Regions from separate parts of the Homo sapiens genome. Here region 2 is linked to region 1. The links are contacts of gene promoters, found by promoter capture Hi-C in blood cells and fetal thymus (Javierre and others, 2016). All regions are on one chromosome and are shown on one strand. Each heading gives the region's core, a stretch centred on a gene start or on the middle of the fragment in contact. The rest is flanking DNA. Distances are from core to core; before and after follow the strand shown.

Region 1 (2,683 bases), core at 124-2,623:
CCCAGAGAGGTGAAGTAAGTTGCCCACAGCCACACAACTAGTAAATAGCCCAAACAAGCTGGATTCCCAGTTAGACTCCGTTAATAGCACTGCTCTTTACCTTAAGTCATTACAATGCCTAATATGAAATAGAATCGCTTCTTTCTTAGGGTTCAAGTGGTTAATTATTTAATGTATTCATTCAACAAACCATCATCGAGGACCTCTTACAAGCCAAGTACTGTGCTAAGTGCTAGAGTTACGGCGGTGATTCCTGCCCTTAAAAAGTTTTAGTGGGAGAAACAACAGGTAACCAGGTCATTGCCAAAACAACAAAAATAATCATAATAAAGCAGGCTAAAGCATATTTAACTGGCCGGGGTTTTGACTATTTTAGCAAGCATGATCAGAACGGTTGAGGAGGGAGGCCAGCAGCTTGGCCGGTTCAACAAACAAGAAAAAACCAGTGAGGGTGGAGCTAAGATACCAGAGGCTGATTACGGTTAAGAATGTTCTTGAAGGTAAGGACCAGATTCTCATTTTCTATATCCTGGGGCATCGGTCAGCATGGAATCTGGATTCTAGCACATGTGAATTTCGGCTTGAAATGACCTAATGCCTTTTCCCTAGTTCCTTCGTGTGTCAAATACGCATGGTTACCGCTACCAGAGCTGTAGTGGGGCTTCAATGAGGCCATGAGCATCTCCATAAAGATGAACTACAGTGTGTGCAAAACTAAAGGCAAAACCTGGTCCCCACACGCCCTCCCAGGTGGTCGCTTTCCGTGCCGAGGCCCCTCCAGAGGTGCCCCGAGAACCTCACCATCGCACCCCAAACTTCCAGGGAAGGGCCTCTCCCGAGAAAGCCCCCACGCCCCCACCCCGCGCCATCATTCCCGAATCTGCCCTCGGCCCCTCCCCGCAGCACGCTCGCAGGCGGCACATGTCAACCAAAACGCCATTTCCACCTTCTCTTCCCACACGCAGTCCTCTTTTCCCAGGGCTCCCCCGAGGAGGGACCCACCCCAAACCCCGCCATTCCGTCCTCCCTGCCGCCCTCGCGTGACGTAAAGCCGAACCCGGGAAACTGGCCGCCCCCGCCTGCGGGGTTCCCTGGGCCCGGCCGCCCGAGCCCGCACTGCGGATCCCGCGCCTCAGGGCCCGGCCGCCACCTGCCGCGTGGGCCTGAACCGGCCAGGGCCGGCAGGCCGAGCTGCTCACCACGACGCCAGGGCTGCGGGTCGCCATAACGGAGCCGGCCGGCGCGCGGGCTGACTGCTCAGGAGGAGGAAGCCGGTGGCGGAGCAGAGGAGGAGGCGGAGGCGCAGCAAGAGGCGGCGCCGCGCGGGAAAGCCGAGAGGTTCGCCTGAGGGCTCGTCGCAGCCGCCTGAAGCTGAGGAGAAGCAGGCCCCGCCCTCTGCCCGCCCCGCCACGCCCCGCAGGCCCCGCCCCCGGCCCCGCCCGCGCGCCTACGCCGGCGCCTACCAGTTTGCAGGCTCACTAGGTAGCCGTGGGAATTTTCTCCCAGAAGAAGCCGAGGCTCCCCCAGCGAAGCCCCTTTCCCTCCCAACTCAGTCTCCTATTCAGAGGGCTCCCTGATTCCCAAACCTACCGGCGCGCGTTGCTTCATGGCGGCCGTAAACCGGGCCCCGGCTCTTCGGGTTCCAGTCATCGCGTGAATCCTTGGACCAGACGTCCCATTCCCAAGACCTTGCACTACCTGTGGCTTCCATTTTCCTGACTCTTGGCCCAGTGCTTCCCCAAACCCTTAACTGGTTGTAACAGTTGAGACCTAGAGTCCTAGAGTCACCCAGATCAGGGTACACATCTGAGAGGACACTTAACTGCTCTGTAGTTTTGTACAAATCAGACTCTGAGCCTCTATTTTTGCCTCACTAAAATGAGCATATTAGCCCGGCGCGGTGGCTCATGCCTGTAATCCCAGCACTTTGGGAGGCCGAGGCAGGTGGATCACTCAAGGTCAGGAGTACGAGACCAGCCTGGCCAACATGGCGAAACCCCATCTCTACTAAAAATACAAAAATTAGCTGGGCGTGGAGGCGGGCGCCTGTAATCCCAGCTAGTCCGGAGGCTGAGGCAGGAGAATCACTTGAACCCGGGAGGCGGAGGTCGCACTGAGCTGAGATCGCACCACTGCACTTCAGCCTCCGCGACAGAATGAGACTCCGTCTCAAAAATAAATAAAAATAAAAATAAATAAAAATTTAAAAATAAAATGAGCATATTAACAATACATAAACAGGATCATTTTGAGTATTAGAGGAGTATAGGTATGCGTGTGTGTATGTATATATATATGCACTTAGGACAGTACAGTCAGCAAATGGGAACTACTGTTATTACTACTGATCTTTATTTTTGCCCACACAAGTTCTTATATTGAATCTGAAAACAAAAATATGTTCCCCTGCTAATTAATTCTCAGATAGGTCAGGTAAGCAAGCAACAGTTGCTCCAGCAACACCATTTCTTATATACTCAACCCTATAGCTCCAGCATCCACCACAGTGCCCAGCACATAGTTGGTGGCCTCCCTCTTATTAAGGACGCTGAGGGGTATGTGATGGCAGGAGATTTGTAAAACTAGGCAAGTCATTGAGCTTCTCTGGACCTCAGTCTCTTCATCTAAAAAATGAGAATAATAAACCTGGGTAACATGGTGAGACTCAGTCTCTACAAAAATG
Region 2 (2,683 bases), core at 87-2,586, 1.1 Mb before region 1:
AAGGCGGTTGTCTAGTCTTTGAAGGCCGGCGGCTGGCTCTGCCACGCTCTCAGCAGGAAGGGGAGGGGACCAGGAGGAAGAGGGGGAGAAGGAGGAGATGCAGCGAAGAGCCCAAGGAGGGGGAGGAAGACCGGGGGAGGAAGGAGGGGCCAGAGGAGGAGCCCAGGCTCCGGGAAAGCCCGCGCGCCCGGCCGGCAGGACCTCGGGGCGGAGTCGCAGGCTCCGTCCGGCCCCCCGCGCGGCGACCCTCGCGCGGTGCGCCTCGAAGGGGCGGGCCCGCCTCGCAGCCTCCCTCCGGGTTTCGGGCCCTCCTTCCCCGCTCCTCCCTCCCCTCCCTCCTTTCCATCTCAGCAGCGCCCTCAGTCTCCCTCTCGCAGGCTCATACAAAAGCAAAATGTCCGCCATGTTCCGAGGCGGCTGCGGTTGTCGCGCCACGAGCTCGGCCCTCCTGCGGTTTCTCCCCGGGGCTGCTCCTCCCCGGTCCCCTCTCCCCGACCCCAGGCGCGACAGCTACTCCGAAGCCGCCGACGGCACCACTCCGCCCGCCCTCTGCGCACCCCCTCGCCGCCCGCCCCGCCGGGCGACGCAGGACCGCCTTAGGCGGGGGCAGGGGGGTAAGCAGCCCCCGCCGACTTGCTCCCGCTTCCCGCCTGTCCCCCCACCCGTAGCCCCTTTACCTTGATGCAGTACGGGGGTTCGTCGTAGGTGACCAGCATGTACCTGTCTCCACGGCTGGCCGGGTCCCGGGCGCGCAGCTGCGGGGCAAGGGATGACGGAGGGGGTCGCGTAGGAAAGGAGGGGGGAGGGCGATACAAACGTTACAGAAGCACCTCAATCCACACCCTGAAATCCCTCGGGAGCTCTCCCCATCTCTCCCCTCCCCTCCCTTTACCTTCAAGAATAACTCCACAGCGCCTTTGGCAATGTCCAAATAAGAGGTGCCCAGGTCAGTGCGCTGGTTCATAGAGGCGGACGTGTCTATGAGGAACAGCAGGATGGGCATCTTCCCCCGCACTCCTGCCTCCGCTCCCCACTCTCCCGGCCCTCTTGCCCTCACTGCCGCGTACGGCCACCTGAACCCTCAACTCTCGCAGAGCCGGGGAGCAAGGAGCAAGAGGAAGAGGGGGAGACGGGACGGGACGGGACGGATGGGACCGCTCCTGGCCTCCTCTTTCTGCAGCCCCACCTCCTCTCCCTCCAAGGGAACTTGAAAGTGTGAGCGTGTGTAGCCCTCGGGGCCCTCCCCCTTCCTCTCTTCTGCTGCCACCACTACTGCCGCTGCCAGGACTACTGCCTAAGCATCCGTCCGCGCTCACTAGAGCGCTCGCCCCAGACTGAGCGCCGTCTCTGTTCACTGACAACTTCTGTCTGCTCACCTACCATCGGCACCATGTGACCAGAACCCATGCCATTGGCTGCCAATTATGTGGTATTTGCATATTCATTAGATGACAGGACTAGGGGAGGGACTTGGGCGAACCCTGGGAGTTGAAGTTTGAACCCAGGCAGAGGGTAAGGGGAAGTGTTACGGACCCTCGCTAGGATTCTCCTTTAAAGGACTTGGAAGCAGTTCGAATGATTAGTTCGGGTGGTTTAAATGGATTTTTCTGTCTCTCTTCAAAGATGGTGATTCGAAAAGAAGAGTGAATTTGAGCAACAGTTGTACAGAAGTACAGAAGCAGATGCTTGGACAGTTTGCACAGAAAATTCTTCGCTAACTGCAATCGATCAATCCTGCCAGTGGCGAAGACGAAAATATTTCAGAAGCAGCAAACTTCTTTCCTGGCAGGACGTACTCACATTCCTTTAGATCCCTCCCCCGTCTTGATCAGTATTTGTGAGTTGGTTGCTGGCCTTGCATTCCACATATATCTACTTAGAAAGGAAACTAAAGCTTAAACACAGTTACAGTTACCTAAACTGGCCTTTTGTATGCACAAGCTTCTTCAGTTTCACTAAGCTCTTTGAAACATTGGCCTGCCTGTGATAATTCCACCACTGTTCCCTCTGCGCAGCCTTTACACATGGAGGTTTGCAAACCTAGATTGTGATTCAACTCACATATTTATTTATTTATTTATTTTTATAAATAAATAAAGAGGATCTCGCTTGATCGCCCAGGCTGGAGTGCAGTGGCCCCATCATAGCTGCCTGCAGCGTCCAGCTCCTGGGCTTAAGCGATCCTCCCATCTCAGCCTCTCAAGTAGCTGGGACCACAGGGGCAGGCTCTCAACTCACATTTATTGAGTGCCTATGAAGAGCCAGGCACCCACGGTAGCCTTGTTTAATCTTTGAATTAATTATGGCAGATGGCATTGTATTCAATTTTCAGTAGAGGAAAATGCAGCTCCCTGAGGTTAGGGTAACAATTACGGATACTCTCAGGTCTGGCTCTGTGAAGAGACTCAGTAAGTGGCCAACCACACTTGATTGACTACTTCATATGACACAATTTTAAAAATTGGACTTGTGTATTCCTGGCAATTACTATTGACAATGTGGAATCCAGGACTTCAATGAGTTTGCAGTTTCATTGAGGAGAGATGATGACATATACATACATAATATTTTATATATTTTGGCCAGGCGCAGTGGCTCATGCCTGTAATTCCAGCACTTTGGGAGGCCGAGGTGGGTGGATCATTTGAGGGCAGGAGTTTGAGACCAGCCTGGCCAACATGGT

The links. The method cuts DNA at HindIII sites, captures the fragments that hold promoters and counts their contacts. A CHiCAGO score of 5 or more calls a contact.
Region 2: a contact is called between the fragment with the promoter of INTS6L here and the fragment with the promoter of HPRT1 in region 1, in 1 of 17 cell types (neutrophils). The highest score is 6.2, in neutrophils.

The regions. Positions count from the first base shown.
Region 1 is chrX:134,458,855-134,461,537 of GRCh38, reverse strand. HPRT1 (hypoxanthine phosphoribosyltransferase 1) reads right to left here and starts at 1,373. Exons shown (of 9, transcript NM_000194.3): 1 at 1,200-1,373. The coding sequence starts at 1,226. RefSeq lists silencers at 1,102-1,281, 1,382-1,501. The HindIII fragment of the contact is 6,801 bases long and covers 1-2,683 here.
Region 2 is chrX:135,519,313-135,521,995 of GRCh38, reverse strand. It overlaps INTS6L (integrator complex subunit 6 like), which reads right to left and starts at 1,336. Exons shown (of 18, transcript NM_001351601.3): 1 at 893-1,336; 2 at 678-755. The coding sequence starts at 1,003. It overlaps INTS6L-AS1 (INTS6L antisense RNA 1), which reads left to right and starts at 1,322. Exons shown (of 2, transcript NR_046740.1): 1 at 1,322-1,429; 2 at 1,624-1,913. RefSeq lists silencers at 233-432, 493-762 and enhancers at 1,013-1,072, 1,103-1,182. The HindIII fragment of the contact is 2,771 bases long and covers 1-1,896 here.